Linked DNA regions of Homo sapiens: region 2 is linked to region 1. The links are contacts of gene promoters, found by promoter capture Hi-C in blood cells and fetal thymus (Javierre and others, 2016). All regions are on one chromosome and are shown on one strand. The core of a region is centred on a gene start or on the middle of the fragment in contact, and the rest is flanking DNA. Distances in the headings are between cores, read along the strand shown. Region 1 holds the start of TTI2 (TELO2 interacting protein 2). Region 2 overlaps WRN (WRN RecQ like helicase).

Region 1 (6,386 bases), core at 2,686-5,185:
ACCAAAAATACAAAAATCAGGCGTGTGTGGTGGCAGGCGCCTGTAATCCCAGCTACTTGGGAGGCTAAGGCAGGAGAATCACTTGAACCCGGGGTGGCAGAGGCTGCAGTGAGCCGAGATCGCACAACTGCACTCCAGCCTGGACTGGAGTGAGGCTCTATCTCAACAACAACAAAAAAATTTACATGAATCCAAAGTTGAAGCTATTAAACACAGTGTATACAGAGAAATCTAGCTTCCATTCCTATTTCCTTCACCCCGTTCTTTTCTTACCTATAACCATTTTTCTTAGTTTATAATTTACACTCTATTGCATCTTTAACATGTAAGCAAATGCACACATCATTATTTCTATTTTCCCATCTTTCTTACAAGAAAGGCAGCATTTCAACACGTGTGAAAAGGGGGAAAAATAAAAATAAAGGCAACATACACATGGTCTCTGTCCTGCTTTTTTCACTTAACAATACATCCTAGATTTCCAAGGCAGTCCACAGAGATGGTTCTCTTTCCTCTGTGCAGCGGCATAAAACTGCATTGTGTGGATATACATAGTTTATTCAGCCAGTCCTCTGTGGATGGATGTGTGGGTTCAACAAACATTTATTGCATGACCAAATTGTGCCAGGCACTGGGAATAAAGACGTGGTCTCTGGCTTCAGGAAACTCAGAAGTGCAGATGGGGAGATCTCCACAATACAAGTGCTTTCCTTATAAGAAGTAATAGCTTGGGTCCACTTAGCACAAGGGGCACATGGAACAGGGAAGAGACGCTTGCACACAGGAGGGACACAATAACTGTCTATTTATTGGCATCTTGCTTCCACTTGGGCCTGCAAACAGGAGAGTCCCCTCGGGAGGAGATGGTTACCAGTGGTTGAAATTGCTTAAAAAATCATGAGTGCCACCAATTGGTCAGAGAAGGGAAAGCTGAATGAAAGAGGCCGAGAGGGAGGGTCCTAACCACAAAATTACCCTGGAAAGAGGAAATGTAACAACACAGGAGCTGTGGTTTAACATGAGCCAACACCTATGTAGAACTTTCTGCTGACCAGATATTGTTCTAAGCAGTTTACATATAATTCCTTTCTCACAACACTCCTAAGTGGTACGAATTATTACTACCTGCATTTTTCCGATAAAGAAATTAAGGTGGCTGGGCGAGGTGGCTCACGCCTGTAATCACAGCACTTTGGGAAGCCAAGGCAGGTGGATAACTTGAGGTCAAGATTTAGAGACCAGCCTGGCCAACATGGTGAAACTCCGTGTCTGGTAAAAATACAAAATTAGCTGGGCGTGGTGGGTGCCTGTAATCCCAGTTACTCGAGAGGCTGAGGCATGAGAATCGCTTGAACCTGGGAGGCAGAGGTTGCTATAAGCCAAGATCACACCACTGCACTCCAGCCTGGGCGACAGGGAGACAAGAAAGAAAAGAAAGAAGGAAGAAGGAAGAAGGAAGAAGGAAGGAAGGAAGGAAGGAAGGAAGGAAGGAAGGAAGGAAGGAAGGAAGGAAGGAAGGAAAAATAAAAGAAAAAGAAAAAAAAAATTAAGGCACCAGCGAGGTGGGTGGTTCACACCTGTAATCTAAGCGCTTTAGGAGGCCAAGGAGGGAGGATCGCGAGGCCAGGAGCTCGAGATTAGCCTGGGTAATACAGCGAGACCCCATTTCTACAAAAAAATTAGAAAATATTAGTAGGGTGTGGTAGGGCGCGCCTGTGGTCCCAGTTACTGGGAGACTGAGGCGGGAGGATCGCTTGAACCCAGGAGTTTGAAGCTGCAGTGAGATACGATGACGCCACTGCACTCCTGCCTGGGCCACGGAGCAAGACCCTGTCTCTAAAAAAATATTTTTTAATTAAATAAAAAATAAAAAGAAATGAAGGCACAGAGAGGCTACCGAACTTTTGCCCAAGGTCAGACAGCAAAATGGAAAGAAGGGCAGGCGAGTAGGCAGCAAGACACCGCAGATGGGACAGTTGCAAGTAGTGCACCAAGAAGCTGGTGCGCTCCCCAAGGTGGGACGAAAATACTGTATGTCCCTCTACCCCATAACCACCTCCTCGCGAGGACAAAGGACACCTGACACGTCACCCCTCCCTCGCCCCTGCGCGCACACACGCCCCTCACCCTACCCCAGGTCAGAAGACCCCGAAGGGCTTTCTCTGGACTCCTGGAACCCTGGAGGCGCAATTGACGCCTTAGAGGCTGAATAAGAGTCCCTCTCCGAGCAGCTGGCGACACGTCTCTCTCGCGCCACCCCTCCCAGGGTCCGAAGCTCCCGCCTGTGCAGTGGCACAAATGAAGTTTGCCTCCTCGGGCTCCTGCGAAACCGTGGAAGCTATGAGAGTCACAAGGTCCTAAATGGAAGCAGCTCCTCGGGAACTGAAGGCCAATCGGACGCAATTCTACCCTCCAGGAAAGCGCAGGAAGAGGGAACAAGCAATGCCGACGCGGCGTGGGGGACCCAACACAGGGCGGTCGCACAGGCGCGACCCTTCTCGCGCCTTCTCAAAACCCAAGCAAACACCACTGGTTCCTACACCCGCCGAGCCCGAGTCTGCAGCCTCCAGCTCCCCTGGCCCGTTCCGGGCGCCGCCTGCGACCCATGCCCAAGACAGCGCTCTGCTGTCCCTGCGCACCCGGCGCCGACACTGGCGGGGCGGGCCCAAGCCGGATCCGCCAACCCGACGACCCACCTCCCTCAGGGCTGCCCCAGACGCCAGCTGGGGGCTTCTACCTTGACGCTAGAATTTGAATTTTCAAACGCTTGTGGCTACAGGCTTTAAAACGCTAGCTCCAGAAACCAGCTAAAGTATTGCATTGAACAGAAAACCAAATACCGCATGCTCTCATTCATAAGTGGGAGCTAAACATTAGGAACACGTGGACATAAAAGTGGCAACAACAGACACTGTGGTCTACTAGAGGGGGCAATGAAAACGGGCTAAGCTGCACTCCAAATCCCAGCATCCCACAACATATCCAGGTAACAAACCTGCGCAGGTATCTCCCAAACCTAAAAAATTAAAGCCATTAAAAAGCTCTGCATTGGCCAGGCGCGGTGGCTCACGCCTGTAATCCCAGCCCTTTGGGAGGCCGAGGCGGGCGCATCACGAGGTCAAGAGATCGAGACCATCCTTGCCAATATTTATACAAAAATTAGCTGGGCGTGGTGGCGCGCGCCTATAGTCCCAGCTACTCGGGAGGCTGAGGTAGGACAATCTCTCGAAAACCGGAGGTGGGGGTTGCAGTGAGCCGAGATCGCAACACTGCAACTCCAGCCTGGCGACAACGCGAGACTCCGACTCACAAAAGAACAAACACAAAAACACATTACACAGTTGGACAACGGAAAAGCACCCGTGCGTGTAGCATACAGCCAGAAAAAAGGGCACCCGAAAACGGTAAACACAAAGCCATGAAACTAGGCCACCTGTTATCATAAGTAACAAGCCCACAAATACAAGTGTTAAATCGATCCTTGAAGTTCAGGTCAGACGGGTAATGTGCCCACGTCGTAACAAGGTTCAAGGGTGGCACATCTCACACAAGCGTATGAACACCCAATCATCACGCTCATGAACTACAAAAGGATCATCTTATAGTTGACATTAAGGAGTGCCAAGTATGTGCCACTAATTTACACATAGGGTGACTACCGTAATGCGATACATCCATTCTTCACGTATAAAATCCTGGATATTTTCAAAGTCCCACTGAGATTCTGTGATTATTCTTTTGTTTCTACCTTAGCAAAGGAAAACAGAAACACAATTAGCGAGCGGATTATTATATATGCAAATTTATTCTCTATAGTTCCACCTCTCCGTCATTTTCCCGAGCCTGGATCTTTATTGCTTTACGACCATACGTCGTGAAATAAGAAGGTGTTGCGGCAGTACTGGCGGAAGCTAGCCTTGCGTTTTGCGGCAGCAATATGAGCTAGGTCCGGATCCTGTTAGACACCGGCGGGCGCGAGCCGTTGCAGGTACCTGGGGGTGGTTAAGTTGGTGACATGGCTCAGAAGTTTATTTCTTTAAATTTTTAAGTTTTTTTTCTTTTTAGTCTTCAGAAAGGCAACAGTAGTCTTTTAACGTCACTGTTAAAAGTGTAAGACTCTTTTACTCCCTGAGAGTCCCCTTTCCCTTTCTTGCGTCCTTTCCTCTTTATTCTTTTTTTTTTTTTTTTTTTTACTGAGACGGAGTCTCACTCTGTCGCCCAGGCTGGAGTGCAGTGGCGCGATCTCGGCTCACTGCAAACTCCGCCTCCCGGGTTCACCCTTTCTCTTTATTCTTATCCCGGTCAGACTCGCCCCCTCCTCCAAGACATCTCTCTGTTTTATTTTATTTGATTTTAGTTCTCTTTGGGTGATCGCTCCTTCCCTCTTCAACGGATCCCTCCCCGCCTCCATCCTCGTTCTGTGGGAGAGACCAGCCTTCTGGTGCTGCAGTCAGGAATGGAGCTTGACAGCGCTCTGGAAGCCCCATCGCAGGAAGACTCTAATTTGTCCGAGGAGTTGTCTCACTCCGCCTTTGGACAGGCCTTCTCCAAGATTTTACACTGTCTTGCCCGCCCGGAGGCACGACGAGGCAATGTAAAAGATGCAGTTCTTAAAGACCTCGGTGATCTAATAGAAGCCACAGAATTTGATAGGTTATTTGAGGGGACTGGTGCACGGCTCCGCGGAATGCCGGAGACACTGGGGCAGGTAGCAAAAGCCCTGGAGAAGTATGCAGCCCCCTCCAAGGAGGAGGAAGGTGGAGGTGATGGGCACTCCGAAGCGGCCGAGAAAGCAGCCCAAGTTGGGTTACTGTTTCTTAAACTGTTAGGGAAAGTTGAGACTGCTAAGAATTCCCTGGTCGGCCCTGCATGGCAGACGGGCCTGCATCACTTGGCAGGACCCGTTTATATTTTTGCCATCACACACAGCTTGGAGCAACCATGGACCACTCCGAGATCTCGGGAAGTTGCTAGGGAGGTGCTCACCTCACTGCTTCAAGTTACTGAATGCGGTTCTGTGGCAGGATTCCTACATGGAGAAAATGAAGATGAGAAAGGGAGACTTTCGGTGATACTAGGGCTTCTCAAACCCGACTTGTATAAGTGAGTACTCCTGCCCTTTGCCACCGACTTGAGCCTCACAGTTTTTTATTTTTATTTTTTATTATTTATTTATTTTCGAGACAGAGTTTCACTCTTGTTGCCCAGGGTGGAGTGCAATGTTGCGATCTCAGCTCACTGCAACCTCCGCCTCCTGGGTTCAAGCGATTCTCCTGTGTCAGCCTTCGGAGTAGCTGGGATTACAGTTGCCCGTCACCACGCCTGGCTGATTTTTTGTATTTTTAGTAGAGACGGGGTTTCACCATGTTGGCCAGGCTGGTCTTGAACTCTTGACCTCAAGTGATCCACCCGCCTCGGGCTCCCAAAATGCTGGGATTACAGGCGTGAGCCACTGCGCCTGCCCTAGCTTAATTTTTTATAGCGTTATACCTCAAAGGAAGCTCAATTTCTTCAGCAGTAAAATAAGGGTGCTGTAACCACGGATCTCTTAAGGCCCAGAAACGTTGTGATTTGCTATAAATGACATAACTGGATAGTGGCAAATTGGAGGTCATAACTGAGATGTTCGGGCTCAGTTGTCCAATGCTCTTTCCAGCCCTTAGGACGACTGCCTAGGAAAATTGGAAATTCTGTCCCACTTACTTGGAGTTAATAATTACAAAATGTGGCCGGGCGAGGTGGCTCACTCCTGTAGTCCCAGCACTTTGGGAGGCCGAGGCGGGTGGATCACTTAAGGTCAGGAGTTCGAGACCAGCCTGGCCAACATTGTGAAACCCCATCTCTACTAAAAATACAAAAATTAGCTGGGCATGGTGGTGGACGCCTGTAATCCAAACTACTCGGGAGGCTGAGGCAGTAGAATCGCTTGAAACCAGGAGGCAGAGATTGCAGTGAGCTGAGATCGGGCCACTGCACTCCAATCTGGGCAACAGAGCAAGACATCGTCTCAAAAAAAATTACAAATTACTAGAATTTGGATGGGGGATTTAGAGAGGATTTAAACTTATGGTTTGAATTTAGACTTGGGGATCTTGAATCTCATTACTGCTTGTTAGAGAAGGATGACTATCAGCTAAGAAAGCCATGTTTAGGATAAAAAGTGAAAAGCACCTTTAGATTACTGTTAGCTGAAGTTCTTTCAATGAGTTTCCACTTGCTACTTTGTTAGCACTGGAGTAATGAGAGAAAAAGTATCTGTAACTGTCATTTTACCAGGAACACGGAATTAAAAGGCTTGATTTTGAGTTTCGTGCTTCTATTTGTTGCTCTGAGTAGGACCAGATTAGACAGTTATCTGAATCTGTTTGTTTCTAATATAAAGATAA
Region 2 (6,386 bases), core at 3,523-6,022, 2.4 Mb after region 1:
ATTCAAATTTAGGTACTATAACCACTAATATATCGTAAGGAAATATATCATAACACTCTCTCTACATATCTAATTTTAAATGATACATCCCAACTAGAAATCTAAGTATTCTATAAAATCTTAAATATGGTTCCTTAAGAAATGTTTAAAAGAAAAAATGGGAAAAACTGAAAAACAAGATTAATGAAAAAATAATGGAATCTTTTTAAAGGCTGAAATAAAGGTAAAGAGATAGAAAACTATTTTTTTAACTACACATAAAAGGTAGATGAAAACAGCATACTACAGTCATAATAAAACCTGTAACAGATGAAATTAATAATTTAAAGAAGAGCCTCGTCTCTTGATGAATGATATTGGTATCATTTTTATAGGTTATTTATCATGTGTTCTACTATATTATGTATACATATATGAGGAAATGTGTCCATGAGCTCTTCTTTTGGAAAGATTTATTTTTTGTTTCCATATTCTGTTATTAGGGAGTTTAAGAAATTTATTAGTTGAGTACTAATTTACTGCTTGGTGAGAAACATAAATGTTTCTGTTTTACTTTTTACATGCTATATATATGATGCCTAATGTTTCAATTATCTGACCCAAGGCAATAAAATGTGCTTGCCAAATACTTTGGGGGATTACATTTTACATGTGGAAGAATCTCAGAGCTAAACTCTCACATCAACACAAAAGATAATTTCAATCAAATAACCCTAGCAGTGGAGATTTCATGTTCTGAGCATACGGTGGGCCTAATAAAACAGTCCCAGGTGTTACATGTTTCTGTTTCTCTTTTACAGCTTCATAATAGCTGCATTTTGCAATTTATAGAAATCCCACCAAGACAAAATGGGTATTTACTGAGGAAGCATTGTTGGCTATTCAGACTGGTCACCCCACTATGGCAACACCATGGTCTAGGCCAGCATTTCAGTCCTCATCCTTGCAATCTCAAAAGTCTAATGTGTCTTGTTACAGGGTAGTTGGGTTTTGGGGAATAGAGCTGCACTACCCATCTATTGAGCTTGGTTTTATGTGTATGTGTGTATAAATATCAGTGTATATATTAGAAAGGAAATTCATTAATTTATGAGGCATACAACTAGACAGTTTCACTTGCCCCAACCAGTATGTTCTGTCCTATACAAGAGTTATACAGGAAGCCAGCTCACCTGAAAGTTGAGAACAAGTTTGGAATATAACAAAGACACTTTTTTTTTTTTTTTCTATCACTCAGGCTGGAGTATTGTGGCACAATGATGGCTCACTGCAGCCTCAAATCCCCGGGCTCAAGCAATCCTCCTGCCTAAGCATCCTAAATAGCTGGGATTACAGGCTAGCACCACCATGCCTGGCTAATTTTAAGAAATTGTTTTTGTAGAGGTCGGGTCTCACTATGTTTCCCAGGTTGTTTTCTAACTCCTGGCCTCAGGTAACCTGCCTGCCTTGGCCTCCCAAAGTGCTGGGATTACAGGCATGAGGGATTGCACCTTGCCATGAGGGAACTTCTGATAGTGCCTTAAGTAGTCTCTTAACAAAGATTAAGTTGAGGCATTTTCCTTGACAATTAAACTATAATATTCAAATCTAGTTAGCAAAAATGTCTTTTTATCTGAAGAGTGCTTAGGTAAGCTTTGCCAACTTTTGTCCTTATTGCCTTTTCTATTTATATCTTCCTATAATTGACCACTCATCTTTTTTTTTTTAAGGTTTATTGTGGGATATATCAAACATATACACGAGTCGAGGGAATAAGATGGGCACCACCCGGTTTCATCAACTGTCATTCATAGCCAGTATTATTTCATGAACATCCTTAGATATTTTCTAACTACCCTGTCCCTACCCCTGAATTTTTTTAAAATAAATAATATTTGTACATATTTATGCCATACATGTTCATATAGTCTTTTTTTTTTTTTGAGATGGAGTCTCGCTCTGTCGCCCAGGCTGGAGTGCAGTGGCACGATCTCGGCTTACTCCAAGCTCCGCCTCCCAGGTTCACGCCATTCTCCTGCCTCAGCCTCCCGAGTAGCTGGGACTAGAATACGATTTGATCACATTTTTGCTTACTAGAATCACATTCTTGCCCTACCTTCCTAAGAGTATTATTTCAGATTACTTTGCCAAGTATTTTGGATATCCTTAAACTCTTTAATTGTACATTTATGGATTATATCATTACTTTGTTCCAGAAATTCTCAAAATTCTCAAAAAATGTATTTATATAAAAATATTTTAGCATATTTTTCCTATTCGGCCATCTTAATGTGTTTAATATGTGTCATATTTGTAATTTTTAATGTGTATTGTGACAGCAAGAAATTTTACTTCAAAATTTAAAAAAAAAATAAAAGGCTAATGAAACTCATGAATAACAAAACTTGCTTAATAAACATTAAAGTTGTTTTTTTTTAAATAATTCATTTCAATTTGCAGAATAACCCAAGTATAATTTCTAATCACAGAAATCAGCAGTCATCTTCTCTATCCAGAAGGTTCATAAAGGTTTCATACCTATCCCTTGGGGAATTTACCTTTTCCCCTACTTCATTTTCCTCTTCTGAAGGGGAGTTAGGAGAGATCACTCATTCATTATTAAATAATATCACTAATTCATGAAAGAAGATACTACTTTCAAGTGTCCAAAGAGAGGGAACTTACTCAATTACCGCTGGTAGGTATGATATTCTTTCTCAAACTATTAAGACATTATAATTTCATTTCCAAAAACTCAGTAAGAAATAAGAATTTTCACATGATGTCTTATATAAGAGTATGAAAAAGAAAATTCAAAGTTGCCAAAGATACTCTATATCAAAAGAGGGAAATGCTACATTCAAAAAGCAGAAGGGTTTTCTACTTATAGTTAGAGAAAGATTTTTCTAAAGTAGGATCCAACTGTGCCTGCCCAAAGCTTCCAGGAGCTTCTTGGAAGTAAAAAATAATCCCTTAATATTGCCTTGAATGTGTTTAACTCTTTCAACATTTTATACTTATCCCATGTCTTCTATTTTCTAATGTCATCTGTTGTTTCCTGGATGTGGGGGAGGAAGTGTCATTTCCATTGTATAGCTGAGGAAATGGAGACCCAAGGAAATTAAAGGACATGTGCAGGTTCACCAGGTGAACAACTGTAAGGAAGAACTAAAGTCCTGATTCCGTGACTCCTAGTCTAGTAGTCTCCCCTCTACCTCCCACTGCCTCACCTTCTGCAGAGTATGCATTATAGAGTCTGCTACGTGGAGTTTAGAGAAAATCCTAAATGACATTTCTGGAAATGGTCACTTAGGGCAGAACAAGCAATAATAAAAGGATATGAAGGAAACACTATTAAAACTGAAGAGAATAATATGAAATCCACTTACTATCAAAAGACAGCATTACTGGAAGGGGAGGGAGATTAGAGAAGATGCTAAACCAAAAGAAAGTGGCTGAGCTCCTGACCAACTCATAGCAAGGATAACTTTCCAGCTTTAAATTCCAACTACCACATTTGAATGTAAAATTATAATTTATCAACCTAAAATAATGTTTCCAATTTAAAAACAAAACCTCCCAATGAAATAGAAAGACATCAGCAGCCTGGACAACTACTTTTTAGTATCATCTTTAAAAGTAGATAACTGACATGTTTTTACAACAGATTGACTGTAAAAACAATTTTAATTCATTTTCTAAGTGTCCAGTATGGAAATGCAAATAAAGTGAGCAAATGTTGCTTCTGGAGGGTACTTTTGAAATGGTTACAAAAAATGCTTATTCTCTAAGAGCTCCTGCAAACCACAGTATTTTACCTGAACACTATTTGTTTGGCAGAAATGTTTGATGACTTCCAACAGAGGGGCCAACATGGCAGCTTTGCCTTCAGAAACACCATCAATCCTTTTTACGTTTTCAACCGTAGTTGGTCTGTGTTTAACAACAACAACAACAACAACAAAAAGGTCAAGAAACCACTGAAACAGTATCACTCCAGCAATATAGCTGATGTTCAGCTTCCTAATGATTCTCTCAATAAATGTATAGTTTTTCCAACAACCAAAAACAACGTATAATACAACTAATCATGTTTTATAATTTCTTTCTTTGCTTTCCACCATTTAAAGATTTGTCTTGCCCCCATCACCACAAAAACACACTGTTAATTGGTAAACAGGACATTGTCATAAAGGAACAGGTTAACATCTCATATATTCACTTTATTACTGATTTTATTATTATTTTTATTGTCATGAAAAGGAAAAATATGAGGCTTTAACTGGGAACAACTAAGAGGCTAAGAAAATCTCAAAAGAAAGTCTCATTCATTATTTTCTTCTACAAAGTGTTTACCTGTAACAGTATATCTGCCAATTCCTTCAGACTTTTAGCTCAATATTTCTTATTGTGTCCAATATCCAAGAACCCATTCGATGCCCTCCTTCTAAAAATCTGCCTATCTAATGATTATTATTTTTCATTAAATATCTCCTCTGGGCCAGGCACTGTGGCTCACGCCTGTAATCCCAACAATTTGGGAGGCCGGGGCGGGTGGATTGCCTGAGCTCAGGAGTTCAACACCAGCCTGGACAACACAGTGAAACCTCATCTCTACTAAAATACAAAAAATTAGCCGGGGGTGGCAGCGCGCACCTGTAGTCCCAGCTATTCCGGAGGCTGAGGCAGGAGAATTGCTTGAACCCAGGAGGCGGAGGTTGCAGTGAGCCGAGATCGCGCCACTGCACTCTAGCCTAGGTGACAGAGTGAGACTCTATCACCAAAAAAAAAAAAAAAAAAAAAAAAAAAAAAAAAAAACACCTCTATTAAAGTATGGTCTTAGAATATTTATTTATTTTTATTTTTTATTTTTTTTTTAGACGGAGTCTCGCTCTGTCACCCAGGCTGGAGTGCAGTGGCGCGATCTCCGCTCACTGCAAGCTCCGCCTCCCGGGTTCACGCCATTCTCCTGCCTCAGCCGCCAGAGTAACTGGGACTACAGGCACCCGCCACCACGCCCGGCTAATTTTTTGTATTTTTAGTAGAAACGGGGTTTCACCGTGTTAGCCAGGATGGCCTCGATCTCCTAACCTCGTGATCCGCCCGCCTCGGCCTCCCAAAGTCCTGGGATTTACAAGCGTGAGCCACAGCGCCCGGCCAGAATATTTATTTTTTAACAAAAGAATTAGTGTCAGATGTAGCACTGTGTAATGTCATTAGAAAATTCTGCACTCAAGTAACATCTATTGGATGCAATTTAGTGACAGAAACAATTTTTTAAAAGGAAGTAAAAGACAAATACAATTACCAAGCAACTATTCTTGGGAAATAATTTCTTCTAAATATTTAATGATCACCTCCTGTTTATGAGGCATTGTGCTAGGTGCTACAGGAGACACACAAAAAGGTAAGGAGCTAGTATCTTTATTTGGAGTTTAAAATCTAGAAGATATAATAATACTTGTTTACCACTAATTACAAAAAAATAAAATATAGCATTGTGTGGTAAGTGCTACAGAAGCATCTTTAGAATTCATCTGAAAGTCCTCTATGAATTCAAGAGAGAGGAATTACTTTGCTGATAAGATCATGAAAGACCTTCTCATAGTCTTTACAGTAATAAAGCGAGAAATAGTAATAAAGCGAGATCTTCAAGAATTCTTAAAAGGAGTTTTGAGGAATCAAGGAAACTACAAGGAGAAGCAACACTGTAAATAAATATATGGAAGTTGAAAATGGATCTTCAACAAGTGATAAACAATCCAGGTAAGATAAACCATTTCAAATTCTGTAACTTAGAGGGAAAAGTAAGTTTAAGTTCATAAATAGAGGGCCTTGAATTCTAAGCTAGAAAAAAAACATTTAAGCAGAAGTAAGATATGATAAAGGAAGATTTAGTTTGGTACTCATATATCAGATGAAACAGAGAGAGAGAATGAAGGGTTAATAGTTAAGAGGCTTCTGCAACAGGCCAAGGGAAAACAGTCAGAATTAACGTGGTGTCATTAAGAAGGAGGAGGAAGGCATAGACAGGCAACAAGGAACCCGTTTTACAAAAGGTATGAAAAGTATTTAAATGAGAAAAAGAGGCCAGGCACAGTGGCTCACACCTGTAGTGCCAGAACTTTGGAGACTGAGGCGGGAAGATTGCTTGAGCTTAGGAGTTCAAGACCAGCCTAGGCAATATGGCAAAACCCTGTCTCTACAAAAAATACAAAAATTAGCTGAGCATGGTGGCATGTTCTGTAGTCCCAGCTACTCGGGAGGCTGAGGTGCGAGGATAGCTTGAGTCCAGGGGGTCAAGGCTGCAGTGAGCAGTGATCGCACCACTACACTCCAGCCTGGGCAACACAGTGAGACAAGTCTTCAGACAAAAAAAAAAAAAAAAATGAAGAAGAAGAAGAGGA

Evidence for each region. Contacts are between HindIII fragments. The CHiCAGO score rates a contact against its expected background, and 5 or more counts as called.
Region 2: a contact is called between a fragment that was not itself captured here and the fragment with the promoter of TTI2 in region 1, in 1 of 17 cell types (non-activated CD4 T cells). The highest score is 5.2, in non-activated CD4 T cells.

Annotation. Positions count from the first base shown.
Region 1 is chr8:33,510,684-33,517,069 of GRCh38, reverse strand. It overlaps TTI2 (TELO2 interacting protein 2), which reads left to right and starts at 3,935. Exons shown (of 8, transcript NM_001102401.4): 1 at 3,935-3,988; 2 at 4,358-5,103. The coding sequence starts at 4,457. It overlaps SNORD13 (small nucleolar RNA, C/D box 13), which reads right to left and starts at 3,595; the gene lies at 3,492-3,595. RefSeq lists enhancers at 1,954-2,243, 3,764-3,903 and a silencer at 3,284-3,333. The HindIII fragment of the contact is 19,476 bases long and covers 1-6,386 here.
Region 2 is chr8:31,147,867-31,154,252 of GRCh38, reverse strand. WRN (WRN RecQ like helicase) reads right to left here. Exons shown (of 35, transcript NM_000553.6): 31 at 3,798-3,912. Among named protein-coding and RNA genes, the nearest start is that of WRN, 120 kb to the right of the region's middle. The HindIII fragment of the contact is 3,706 bases long and covers 2,920-6,386 here.